3 separate regions of the Homo sapiens genome follow, and regions 1 and 2 are each linked to region 3. The links are contacts of gene promoters, found by promoter capture Hi-C in blood cells and fetal thymus (Javierre and others, 2016). All regions are on one chromosome and are shown on one strand. The core of a region is centred on a gene start or on the middle of the fragment in contact, and the rest is flanking DNA. Distances in the headings are between cores, read along the strand shown. Region 1 holds the start of C2orf76 (chromosome 2 open reading frame 76). Region 2 holds the start of TMEM177 (transmembrane protein 177). Region 3 holds the start of CCDC93 (CCC complex scaffolding subunit CCDC93).

Region 1 (4,659 bases), core at 1,670-4,169, 1.4 Mb before region 3:
GTGCAGTGGTGCGACCTCGGCTCACCACAACCTCTACCTCCCAGGTTCAAGCGATTCTCCTGCCTCAGCCTCCCAAGTAGCTGGGACTACAGGCATATGCCACCATGCCCAGCTAATTTTTGTATTTTTAGTAGAGATGGGGTTTCACTACGTTAGCCAGGTTGGTCTCAAACTCCTGACCTCATGATTCGCTTGCTTCGGCCTCCCAAAGTGCTGGGATTACAGGCATGAGCCATAGCGCCCAGCCTCAGTTAAAATTTATATAGTCATATGTGGCTACTGGCTATTATACTAAACTATCGTGTTTGGACTATCATGTTTTATAATCGTGTAATAGGGCTGTATAGTACAGCCCTAGAGAGAGCCGATGACACCTCTTTGATCAGTAAGTGATAGATTCCTATGCCAGTCTATCTAGACTCATGTGAAAATCGGTAACTCTAGTACGGGCACAGGCCAGTCTCTGTGAAAATACTGTTTGTCAGAAAAGCATCTTGGCACCTCTGGCCTCCCCCACTTCACCTTTCCTTCCCCTCCCTGGAAGGACAGAGTTTACGAACTCACTGTAAAACTCACCTTCGCCATAAGACCTTCTTCAACTAAGTGCTCCATGTGAACCCCAGGGTTTGATATGGTACTGCCTGTGATCTGTCATTCTGGGTACTATTTCCTGCTTCCAGCTGGTTGGCAGCCAGCCCACCTGCTCCATCTTCCACCCCAGCTACTGCGGAAATAGGGACCATGCTCGCCTTCTTCCTCAGCAGGGGCAGGGGAGACCTCCCTTCTGTGCTGCCATGATAACCCTGAGTCCTTGCACAGAATGCACTGCGCTGTTGCCTCAGTATCCACCCATGTTTCAGGGACTTAGGGACAGAATGAAACCTGCCCAAGGCAGGAAAGATGTTATTACAGAACATGACAGTCCAAAGCACAGCCTCAAAATCTGCACCAAGATTTCTGGGCAGGGAAAAAGTTATCATCAGGAAGGCACAGACTTGTTAGCGAAATGCTCTGACCTAGCCCAAGAAACCAGGTGCTTCTCTGCTCCTGACATCAGGCTTGGCCAGGCTGTCAAGTGCTCCAAAAAGTGCTCCAACTTTGATCCTGCCCATCTAGGGCAGAAGCTGAACGGCTCAACAATGATACTACTGAGCTGAGAGCCTTCAGCAAGTCTTTTCCAAGCTGCAGCCTTTGCTTCTTCCCTAGTAGAGAGTAGCTGCTGGTGATAACCAGTAAAGACCTTCTAAAACCAGGATTTGAATTCTGTTACTACTGGAGACACTGAGAATCCGGAACATGGTCTTTTCCACCTCAGGAACCATCACCATACCCCACCTGAAGAGTAGGGCCTCAGGCAGTTTGAGAGTGAAGTTCCCAGGGACTTCCAGTCTGAGCTGCTGAGCCTGCTTTGATGAGCAGATGCCCTTCCAACCCCCGCTCTGCATACCTGTATTTATGTCGCCCACAGTTGCTTGTTTGTAGTGGCCATAGATGAACAGCATCTCCTCATCCGATGGCTTGGTCTTAAGGTGCCTAACCTCCTCTGCAGCTTTCTCAAACTCAGCCTAAATGGAAGGGAGAGGAGAGGATTGAGGGCCTCCTCTGGGTGGGAGAGGGTAAGAATCCTACTGTGGCCTGATGACAGCCCAGTTACGGGGATGGAGAGGTGGGAAAGGTGGCACCCTTCGGGCAATGCAGCCCCTGAAGTGTGTCTGCCCCTCCCTGCCCCAACAGGGCAGCTAGAAAGATTCAGCAACACAAGAAGGGGAAGCCCCTCCAGTTCACTCATTCAATCGAAAACCATATATCCAGAGCTCTCACAAACGCAGGCATCAGGTCTGGAAATACAGCAGTGAAGAGGGCAGGCCAAGCCTTCGCCCCCAGTGGGGGTCCCCTCTGCGGGAGAAGCAGCGCGGCCAACTGCCTGGCCACCACCGGGCCAGGCACTAGGGAGTGGCCGGGGCTGCAGCGAAGCCCTGGCCTGAGGACAGACGGGGCACAGTATGCTGGAAACAGCTGAAAGGGGACAGGGCATGAGTGCCGCGGTGTCAGCGCCGGAGCCCGTTGGTCCCCTCCCTCCCCCTGGGGCCCGCGCGTTCAACACCGACCTCTGTCCCAGTGCCCGGATTGGCAGAGGCAGGCGGGAGGAGCCAGAGGTCGCCCCACATAGCTCGGTCTCAGACAAGGGTCTACACTGGAGAGAAGGGAGGGGCCCCTGGGTCACCTCTCCCCGGGCCGCGATTCTCCTCGTCCCGCACTCTGAGCAGCCGGCCCCGTACTTCCCCTGACCTCCAAGCTCTCGGCCACGGACTCCTCGCTTCCCCACTCCGCCGCGACGTCCTGCCCTGTGCTTCGGGATGGGGACTGAGTCTCCTCGCTCCTCCAATCCGTGCAACCCCTTCCCCCATCTCTCCATCAAGCACCCTCGACTCCCACCCCTCTCCCGCTACACAGCGAAGTCCACCCCATGGGCAACTTTCCGGCAGTTGCGGGGTGGGCAGCAGATTTAGAAATCCCCAAACGGAAAATCCCGCTCACAAGGCTCTGTCCAACGAATCAGGGCTAGGCATGGGCCCATGAGCAAGTGAGGGGCACGGAAGGAAAGAGCCCGAGAGCTTCTGGCAGCCGGCTGAGCCCCCAACGGGCCTCCCGCCCGCTGCACCTTCGCAGCCTGGCTGTGCACGCGCTGTACCTGAGACATCCTGGCCGACTTGCAAGAACTCCAGGGAGACAGCGGAGGAGGCGAGGACCAGGAAGCGATCGCCCAGATTGCACTGGCAAGCGCCTTTAGAGGCGCGGTCCACTCGCCCCAACCCTGCTCGGGCGAGCACCGGAAAGCCAATCAGAAGCCAGCTATGCGCTAGGGGCGTGCCCAGCCCCCGCCGCGGCGCTAGCCCCGCCCGAGCCCACGTGGGACCGCTTGCGCAAACGCCGGGAGTAGCCGAAGGGGACGCCGGGAACAGGTGGGGACAACGGAAGTAGGGTGCTTAGTTTTGCTGCCGGGAGTTGGTCGAGAGTTGGGTTCAGTCCTGGCCCGTTGTGGGGACGGCACGCGGGGGAAGGGGAGGGGACGGAGACCGAAGAACGGAGGTCCTTATGTTTCTTTTCTTTCCTTAAATCTTGCCCGGCCTGAAGAGGCCGGAAGTTGCATCTCTGGACAAGTAAACTCTGAGACCTGGGAATGGCGGGCGGGACCCGCTCCTCCCTTGGGGTCTAGAGGAGACCCCCGGAGATGGTCCCTGATGAGCAGCGTGATGGTGGAAAGCTGGACTGGTCTCCCGAAAGGCGAAGCCGAGGCTTCTTCCTCTGAACTTTTGGCACGTTCTTTGACTTGCTTGTGGCCGTAGTGTCAGGCCTGTATTGCACATTTATGTCTGTGGTGCATTTCTCCATCTGGTGCGTTAAAGGCAGGGACGGTGTCTTATTTGTCTTGATTTAACAAACTTGGACGGGACGAAGTGCTCAGCAAATATTTGTTAAATGAATGGCTGTTTATTGAACTCCTGTTGGGTAACTTGCACTGTTCTAGACCTTGGCAGACAGCAGTGAACAAAGCGGGTGAATCCCTGCAATCTTGGAACTTACAAGTAGGGACAGTAGTTTATACAATAAGTTAAATATAGAGTACTTTAGGGGCTTAGAGAGTTGGAAGTTTATAGTTTTAAATGGAGGAGGGGGAGTATTGAGGGAAGGTGACATTTGAGAAAGTTCCTCAAGGAGGGGAGGGAAGATTCCAAGCAGAGAACAAGTGTAAAGGCGTGGGCAAGGAACCAGGGGAAGAGTAGAAAGATGAGGCTGGAGAGTTTTGGCGGTGGCAGACTGGCTAGGTGATGCAGAAGTTGGCCATCACAGGGACTTTGACTGTCATGCTGAGTGAGATGGGAAATCGTAAAAGGGTTTGAAAAGAGGATGAGGAGACGGAGGGGAACGTCTTTGCGAGATTGTTACACAGCCTAATCTCCATGGGAACTGAAAGGAGCAGCACAGGTGTCTGGAAGTGTTTTAGGATCGATGTTTAAGAAGCTAAAGGAAGACTTCTCTGGCAGTGGTTGCAAAGGAGCTGGGTGAAGAGAGGGAAATGATGGAAAATTCTCTGGAGATCATTAAAAAAGCAAAGTCATTCCTCTCTAATTCATAATTTGTGGCAAGAGGGCTGGACTACAAATCTCTGCCCTGCCTACACCTTCCCCCTCCCCAGGGAAGGTAGACGCTTTCAGACTTAACTTGCTAACTTAATGTAGGTCACGTTTTATGGAATGTTTGGGAAGAAATGAAGATGCAATAGGGAACAAATCTAGGGTTTTCAGTCTGAGCATAATTTTGTTTGAGAAAGGAAAACCAAACAAATTAACAAAAATCTTGGAGTTAAATATGGGGAAAGTACACTGAAGTGTAAGAAATGCAGGTTTCTTCGAAAATCACAATTCAGAGCTGCTTTTTCCATTTGAGGCCTGGATTTGTTTTTGCTCTACTTGGTGCTTACAGCTTCCTTGATGGAAACTCAGATTATTGCTTGTGTGGGCCAGATTTGCAGTCAAATACATCTCCTAGTCAGCAGGTTTTAAGTTAGGGTATTGTTGAGATTAGGTACTTTGAGAATGCAGTTATCACTTCTCAAAGATCAGTTGCTTTTAGTTTTTTAGTTTTTGTTTTTTAATT
Region 2 (4,497 bases), core at 1,592-4,091, 1.7 Mb before region 3:
TCTTGCAAGGCGGTTTACATCATCTCCACTTTACAGTTCAAGAAACAAAGGCTCAGATTCATAGCCCCTGAATAGTCCCTCATAGTCCCTGAGTTCATAAGTAGTGGTTATAGTACAATCTAAGCTATTTAATTCCAAAGCCAGTGATTTTTCTGGCCGTGAGCTATAGGTCCAAAGGCTCCAACAGGGCCCTCCAGACTCAATGGCAGGGTGGTGTCTGCACAAGCTGGAAGTGTCCTTGTGATGAGCCCATCAGGAGCGGCCCGGATTGAGCATCCCCCTCCACATCTGCAGCACAGAGTCCCGGCGGGTGGTGTAGGGTAAATGTTTGATTCGGAACAAGTGTCTGGGGACGATGTTCCCGCTGGGTGTATACAGCTTCTCCCCGTCTTTGCCCAAGAGACTGCGCAGGGCCAGGTTGCCCGACAGAAGCTTCTCATAGAACTCCACTCCACCACAGGCATAGGCTGCAGAGAGGGAGGCCGTGCGGCGGTCCAGCCAGGACTCCACGGCATGAGTGAGAGAATCCTGGGAGAAGGCGTAGGCCACAAAGCCTGCCACTGCTGCCACCAAGCTGAAGGCAGCCCGTAAATTCATGGGGCCTGCATGGAGCCCCAGGGTGTACTTGGCACCCACGCCCAGTGCCCAGGTCCCTGCCAGGCAAGCTGGGGCCAGCAGGGCGTGCACGGCAGTGGTACTGCTTTCCAGGTACACCACTTCCCTGGCCAAGGCGAACTTCTGGGCTTCACGGGACAAGGTCAGGGAAGCTCTCAGCCGGGCGCCTGCTGGGCTCCGCCAGTCCACTGTATGCCCATGTATGACCACGGGATGGTTAGTGTTGATCACTAGGTCTCCCAAGAAACTGGCAGGGATGCCCACCACAGCCCCAGCAGGGAGTCTTGGGAAGCCTGCACTCACAGGTTGGAAGGTGAAGGTGGTGAAGGGCTTGTAGCAATGGCCTGAAGGAACACCTATGTCCTGTAGCACCTCTTGGAAGAGGCTCTGCAGCTGTGGAGGGAGCGGAGCTGGCTGGCCCTGAGGCCAGTACTGGTAGAGCCATTGGACCACGGGATCCGGGAAGAGGTGGTACGAGATTGGAACTCCAAACAGGCCTGCACAGGAACCCACCAAGAGGCCTGTCCTGTGTCTCTGCACAAATGCTGCGGTCCGCCACAGGGGACCTGCCATGAGTGTAGTCACTGCGGACAATCTGGGCCAAGAAAAAGAGAAGTCAGCCAGTTTCCCTGGGTCAGCCTGCAGACTGAACATCCTCCAGGGTCCACACCACCTTTTTAAACCAAAGTAACACAGCATAGTGGTGAAGAGTGTGGGCTCTAGAGCCAGAGTGCCTGTGTTCAAATCCCAGCTCCGTCTCTGTGCGTCAATTTCCCCATGTGCCAAACAGGTGTGTCGTAATGGCCCACCTCTAGGGTGGCGGTGATGAGCACATGAATAAACATACATAAAACATTTAGTGTCTGGCACAGCAGCAGATATTCCTTATAATAATGGCTGTAATGACTTTTATTCCCATCGCTGGGCACGGCACTCCAACTGCCTCATTCCACTCATCCCATGGTAAAGCCCTATGATTACTAATTTATAAGGAAAAACGTGTTCAATTTATTGAGTGCTTACTATATGCTAGACTCAGTTCTGAGCACTCTTACCGATTGAACCCTCACAACCCCATGACCTAATTACTACAGCTAACCCTATTTCAAAGCTGTGAAAACTTAAATGGCCAAAATCCTAAGCTAGTGAAGTGACAGTGTTATGGGCTGCACTGTGTCTCCTCCTCCTCCCCAGTTCATATATTTAAGTCCTAACCCCCAGTACCTCAGACTGTGGCTGTATTTGGAGACAGGGTCTTTAAGGAGATAATTAAGATAAAATGAGGCCATCAGTATGGATCCTAATCCAATTTGACTGGTGTACTTATAAGAAGAGATTAGGATGCAAACAGGCACAGCAGGAAGATCATGTGAGGATCCAGGGAAAAGGCTACCACCTACAAGCCAAGAAGGGAGGTCTCAGAAGACACCAACCCTGTTAACACCCTGGTCTTGAACTTCCAGCCTCCATAACTCCCAGAGGACAAATTTCTGCTGGTTGGGCCACCCAGTCTCCGGTACTTCGGCATGGCAGCTCTAGCAAGCTAACACAGGCATAGTCAGGTGTCCACAGCAAACTTTTTGTTTTAGAAAACTTGTTATGCCAAATTACAAGCATATACCAAAGTAGACAAAATAGTACATCCATCAACTTCAATCCCATCAACTCATGGCCAATCTTGTTTGATTTCTCTTTCCACCACACTTCCGTCCAACTGGTTTATTTTGAAACATCCCCGGGCATCCTATCACTTCATCCGTGAATACGTCAGTAAAAATTCACAATTATTTCACTTTGATTGAAACTTACTGTATTCCTGTCCGTGAAAAGTGCTTAATGAGCAACGAATGAGTTGCCGCAAACAAAAACGCAGGGTACCGCTTGGCCTATCTTAATCAAGAACTCCTATAAGAATCATTATCATTCGGGCTTTTTTTTTTTCCCAATGCGGAAAGTGAGGCTAAGAAAGGAAAGGTCTGGACCAAAGTCCAACGTCCCTAGGGCCATCGCGCTGCGGGGTGGGCCTAGAACACAGTACCATGCAGCCCGCCGGTGGCTGGGGGAGGAGGGGCTGCAGGAGCCCCGCAGAGGGGTCCTCGCTACGCTTCCACTCTGGGCCCCTAGGCTACTCCGCAGTCTGAACGCGTTACCGGGTCGCATCAGGCCGGAGAAGGGTCCCTCCCGCTCGTCCGTGCGCTCACCTCCGCCGCCGCTCGGAACGCCTACATGTGCGCGCGGCAGGGCGGCCGCAAAGCACGCCGGCCGGGGATCTGGGGGCGGGGACTTCGGGAGGCGGAGCTCGCCGGCCCCGGATCTTGGGATGGGGACTTCAGGGGGCGGAGCTCGCCGGCCGGAGATCTCGGGGCGAGGATTTCAGGGAGGGGAGCTCGCTCGACGGGTCTGGGGGCGGGACTCTTGGGGGTGTGGCTGGGGGGGCCTCAAGGGGATGTCCGTGGGGGGCTCCGGCCGCCGCAGAGGCTCCTTCTCTAACTGTGCACCTTGGGGTGGGTCCGCTAGCACTTCCTCCTCTGCGTTGAAATGCGTCTTTGATTAATACAAAAATTAGCTGGGCGTGGTGGCGCACGCCTGTAGTCCCCAGCTGCTGGGGAGGCTGAGGCAGGAGAATCGCTTGAACCTGGGAGGCAGAGGTTGCAGTGAGCCGAGAATACGCCACTGCACTCCAACCTGGGCGACAGAGCGAGACTCCGTCACACACACACACACACACACACACCCCGGTGTCTTTGATCATGCCACACACACACACACACACACCCCGGTGTCTTTGATCATGCCACACACACACACACACACACACATACCCTGGTGTCTTTGATCATGACACACACACACACACACACCCACCCCGGTGTCTTTGATCATCACACACACACACACACACACACACACACATCCCGGTGTCTTTGATCATGCCGTTGAACCCCCGAAGGAACGGCAGCCCCGCGTGGGTCACCAGGCGGCCTATGGCAGGGCCCCCATCAGAACCCATGCCCATCTGACTGGCCGGCCCGTGTACTTCTCCGTCTGGAAGCGCTCACCCTTGGCGGGGAGCTCTGAGCTTTATGTTTATTACCATGTTCGCTGCCCCCCAAGCTCCTCCCAGGTGCTTCACACTGTACAGTCCACAGAGCAGCGTGCCATCTGTCATTTCTCCTTTCCAGCTGCTCTGTGAGGTAGATGAGGGATCATCTAATCTGTGCACCAAATCCAGCTCTCCACCTGCTTTTGTAAATAAAGTTTTCTTGGAACACAGCCATGCCCAATCCTTTACAGAGGGTGAAAACAGACTGCCTAGGGTTAAAGCCGGGCTCCACCCCTTACTAGCTGTGTGATAAAATGAGTTGGTGTATATGTAACCTGTGCCTCACGGTTTGTGCCGCCTAGCCATTAGCTATTATTATTAAAGTCTGTTCTGTTTCTGAGCCCCCCCCCCCAATTTTGGCTGCTCAGTTGTTTGTATGTAAATAGTGCAATGTGACCTCAGCCAAAGCCAGAATGTGGGACATTCTACAGGGCAAATGACGTGGTTTATCCAACAAATCAATGGCATAAACAGGGAAGGAGGGGGACTCAAAAGAAAAGAGACTTGAGAGTCATTGCAGTTAAATGCAATATGTGACTTTTATTGGGATCCTGAACCAAATAAACTAACTGTAAAAAAGACACCTTGGGCTGGGCGCGGTGGCTTACGCCTGTAATCCTGGCACTTTGGGAGGCCAAGGAGGGCAGATCACCTGAGGTCAGGAGTTCAAGACCAGCCTGGCCAACATGGTGAAACTCCGTCTCTACTAAAATACAAAAATTAGCCAGGCATGGTGGCACACGCCTATAATCCTAGCTATTCAGGAGGCTGAGACGGGA
Region 3 (4,023 bases), core at 227-2,726:
GGGGATCGTGCACAGCTTTGAGTAATATTTGCTAGTTATATTTAAGAACAAAATGGCATCCTTAGGGCAGTTCCAACTATTTGTGAGCTCTGGCTCCAGACAAACCTCTGTCTGTCAGGATGAACTCCAGGAGGAGTACAAAAGGTGCAAAAATAAAATAAAATAGAAAACATCATATATATATACACGTATATATATACACACATATATACACGTATATATATATACACACATATATATATATACACGTATATATATATAGTTTTTAGACAGGGTCTTGCTCTGTCACCCAAGCAGGAGTGCAGTGGTGTTATCATAGCTCACTGCAACCTCAACCTTCCTGGCTCAAGCAATTCTCCCACCTCAGCCTACCGGCTAGCTGGGACCACTGGCACCGGGCTAATTTTCTTATTTTTTGTAGAGATGGAGGTCTCACTATGTTGCCCAGGTTGGTCTCCAACTCCTAGGTTCAAGTGATACTCCCGCCTCGACCCCCAAAGTGCTGGGATTACAGGCATGTGCCACCGCGCCTGCCTACTCTTTTAAAGACGCTAGGGATGCAAAGAAGAGACGAAAGCAAACACGAAACCTTTTTGATCTCAAGGAACTAAAGGTCTGAGTCTGACACTTCCCATCCCACACACATATACAGAGGGAAGGATCTCTTCTCCAGCAAAAGTTTTCACGAAAGTCATCTCTTTCCTCATTGCTTAAAAGAAACAAAAAGCCAAGAAGCCGTTATGGAGCGGGTGTGGGGGCCTGTGACCTTTTGTCTAGTTGCCATCCTCCGGGACCAACAAGGGGTACATCAAATAAGGGACGCGGCGGCTCAAATGACATGAACATAGGAGTCCGCATTCTCTGAGATGTCATTCCTCCAGGAAGACCCAGGAACCGTGAATAGGGCGGGGTGGTGGGCAATATCTGAAGCGAGGTTTCCTGGGAACGCGATGCCACTGGCCAGGACGCTGGAGAGGGCAGCGGGCTTGAAGAATCCCTTCTCAAGGGGTCCGTTCCTGGGTCGTATATGGAGAAGTCTGTCCAAGCGTGTGTCTGTAAGGTCTAGAGCCGGGCGTGCATTCAGAATCCTCAAGCTCATCTGTACTTGGACTCTGACCCTGAAGCGAGGCGGTTTCCGAAGTCTGATTCACCGAGGGGACAGGACCTATTTGGGGCATCCGATGGCAGCGAGAAGAGAAGGGAGCCGAAATGCAAAATATTCTCAAGATGCAGGAGGAACCCCTCTCAAAGAGCGCCACGGAGAAAACTTCAGAGTACGGGCGCGATGATCCAGCACAACGCCAGGACCTGCAGCCCAGCCCACCTCTCCCCGGGCTGCTGTGGCGCAGGCGCAGTGGCGCCGCGCTCCGGCCCCAGCGCGCATGCTCTGCCCGGCTGCGGCGCTTCGGGCAGGCGGCGGCGGCGGCGGCGGCGGCGGCAGAGGGAGTTTCCGCTTTGTACTCCACCCCGGTAGCAGCTCCGCGGCAGGGACAGCTTCCTCCGGACGCTTGGCGGGCTTCGCTCTCGCCTTACGACAGCCCGGTCGGATCATGGGGTTGCCCAGGGGGCCGGAGGGCCAGGGTCTCCCGGAGGTAAGAACGCCTCCTCCTTCCCTGACACGTCGGGGTTCCTGAAGAGAGGGCCGAGCCGCGGGGCGGCGGGCTGAGCGGGCCCTGGGTGCGTTAGGGGCGCCCCGCCCCCTTCCTCAGGCGTATCCACCTCAGGGAAGCGCCGACCCTCTTCTTGGAGGCGGGGAGCAGGTACCCCTGCATGGGCAGGGGGCGGCGGGCGGGTGAGGACAAACTTAAGCCGCTCCCGGGTCTCTTGGGGCGCAGGTGGCCTTCCTAGCCCGACACCTGCTCTGACGCAGCCCCACGCGCCGCGGGGTCCTGGGCTCCCACCTTTCTCCCTGTCCGGGACGGGCTCCCCCACCCCGCGCCGCAGGGCTAGCCCCGAGGGCCGAGGCTGCTGGGCGCTGGAGTCACGAGACCGCTCTCCGAGGCGGTTCGGGCTCGGGTGGTGACCTTGGGACGTCTACCGCCACCCCGCAGAGTCCCGGCGGCCCGCCCCACCCGCCTTGCTGTCGGGAGGGAATGCCACCCTCCTTGCGTGGACCCGGGCCGGGGCGGCGGGAGGAAGTTTGGGAGACTTGCGCGCACCAGGGAGGTGTCCCGCTGGGTCAGCGCGCCGGGGCGTTCGGGGTGGGACGCACTCCAGGGGTGCTGTGTGGCGGGGGACCCGGCTCTGGGCGGAAAGGCTGCGGCTTCTCCAGAAGAGGGCGGGGTTCTTTTCCAAAGGTGTTTGTTAAGTACTCACTTAGTGCTAGGGAGGGGGTCATGAGTGGTTTGCGGATTTCCACGTTTGCTGGGAATACAGGGAAAGTGTATTCATTTTCTTTTGGCTGCAAATACCACTTAGCATCTCATAGGTAGTTTGCATCTGTCGTCCCTTTCAGTTGATTTTACTCAAAGGCTAGTCTAGTTTACTGGATTCTGGAGAGAAATGGAAGCCACGCCGCACCTCTGCCTTTTTCCTAAGGTTCTGGAGCAGGCATTGGGCAGGGTGACTGCTTGCTTGACGTGGTGAGTCGTCCCTTCACACTTACCTGCCAGTGACCAATGTTACTCCTCTGCATTCCTCCCAAATCCTCAGTTCTTTCATATCACAAGTATCCACTAATTGAGGGATCACTGTGTTCTGTGTCCAGAAGCTGGGAATATATATAGTCTGAAAGGACAGATTTGTTTGTCAGTGTGTGCTCCCCGAATGCAAGTCCATTTTGTTGTCTTAAGAAAACCTGACAAGCATAATGTTGTCAGAACCCCTGTATTAGGTAAAATCTTACATGCACGTTGCCTGGGATGGGACCCAGGATAGTGAACAATAGGATTTGTACTGTGACATTTGAAGTTTTCTTTTTTGCCACTTCTGTATTCTAGGCTCTCATCAAGTTTTTGCCTGGCCTTTTGCTGTAGACTTCTGTCTGGTCTCCCACGTTCTACTTTAAATCCGTCCAACCCAATATTCCACAGTACTATCAGTGGAGGTCTTTCTGGGGGGAAAATAAATAAATTAATTAATGAAGAGCAACCTGCTGCTGTATGTCCTTCGTTTAAACTTTCACTGACTGCTAAGAGGCCACACTCACCAGGTCAAGCAATAACTTATCATCATTTAGTTCAGAAGCTAGTAAATATAAATATGGATAGTCTGTGTTATTAGGATGTCACTAGACCAGTTAATTCATTAAATTCATTCTTTTTTTTTTTTTTGAGACAGAGTCTCACTCTGTCACCGAGGCTGGAGTGCAATGGCGTGAGCTCGGTTCATTGCAACCTCTGCCTCCCAGGTTCAAGCAATTCTTATGCCTCAGGCTTCCCAGTAGCTGGGATTGCAGATGTGAGCCACTGCCCTGCCCGAATTCATTCTTTTTAACCCTTTACAAAGATAGCTAGACTTGGCCTGCCTTCCAGCTTACAACAACTATAGTGGACGGAAATTGAAAGTTTATTGGGCTTTGTGTAAGAGCTCATTGTTGTTTGTCTTTGTCAGAAATTTAGCTTCAACAACTGGATGTATTAACCAGCCTGGTGGATTTTTATTGCTTCAAGAGAGGGTCTTTCATTCCCAGCAGATCAGACAGTGGCCCTTTTCCATTTGATTTCAGTGTTAATCTGCTAAGTGAATTTGGAGTCATACATTCCCATTTAGTGTCTTGTGCCAAAATTACTTCACAAGTTATATTGCAAAAGTAAACTTCTCCATGCTAGGGGTGAGTGGATGGAAGCCTGGGCCCTGCATCTGTGGTGGGGTGGCCAGTGGGTGTCCATTAGATAGGTGTTGAGGCAGTGATGATCCTATTTTTTTTTGGTTTTTTTTGTCTTCTTCTCATGTTTTCATAATAAATGATTGAACAAATGAAGTGTTCCTGTTTTACACCCCAGAAGTTTTAAGAAAGTACTTATATTATCTCATTTTCTTTTTCTGCTGACTTGAACTACAACTACTCTTTAGCTTCTCTTT

Evidence for each region. The method cuts DNA at HindIII sites, captures the fragments that hold promoters and counts their contacts. A CHiCAGO score of 5 or more calls a contact.
Region 1: a contact is called between the fragment with the promoter of C2orf76 here and the fragment with the promoter of CCDC93 in region 3, in 2 of 17 cell types (non-activated CD4 T cells and total CD4 T cells). The highest score is 7.7, in non-activated CD4 T cells.
Region 2: the fragment with the promoter of TMEM177 here is called in contact with the fragment with the promoter of CCDC93 in region 3 in 1 of 17 cell types (non-activated CD4 T cells); the score reaches 5.5 in non-activated CD4 T cells.

The regions. Positions count from the first base shown.
Region 1 is chr2:119,365,094-119,369,752 of GRCh38, reverse strand. It overlaps C2orf76 (chromosome 2 open reading frame 76), which reads left to right and starts at 2,919. Exons shown (of 6, transcript NM_001322331.2): 1 at 2,919-2,963. It overlaps DBI (diazepam binding inhibitor, acyl-CoA binding protein), which reads right to left and starts at 2,776. Exons shown (of 4, transcript NM_001079862.4): 1 at 2,693-2,776; 2 at 1,448-1,565. The coding sequence starts at 2,701. RefSeq lists enhancers at 1,656-1,855, 2,386-2,715, 3,086-3,345 and a silencer at 2,816-2,965. The HindIII fragment of the contact is 12,909 bases long and covers 1-4,659 here.
Region 2 is chr2:119,677,545-119,682,041 of GRCh38, reverse strand. It overlaps TMEM177 (transmembrane protein 177), which reads right to left and starts at 2,841. Exons shown (of 2, transcript NM_030577.3): 1 at 2,766-2,841; 2 at 1-1,210. The coding sequence starts at 1,188. The coding sequence ends at 253. RefSeq lists a silencer at 2,765-2,994. The HindIII fragment of the contact is 6,463 bases long and covers 435-4,497 here.
Region 3 is chr2:118,011,523-118,015,545 of GRCh38, reverse strand. CCDC93 (CCC complex scaffolding subunit CCDC93) reads left to right here and starts at 1,476. Exons shown (of 24, transcript NM_019044.5): 1 at 1,476-1,592. The coding sequence starts at 1,551. RefSeq lists silencers at 1,269-1,468, 1,939-1,988. The HindIII fragment of the contact is 9,438 bases long and covers 1-4,023 here.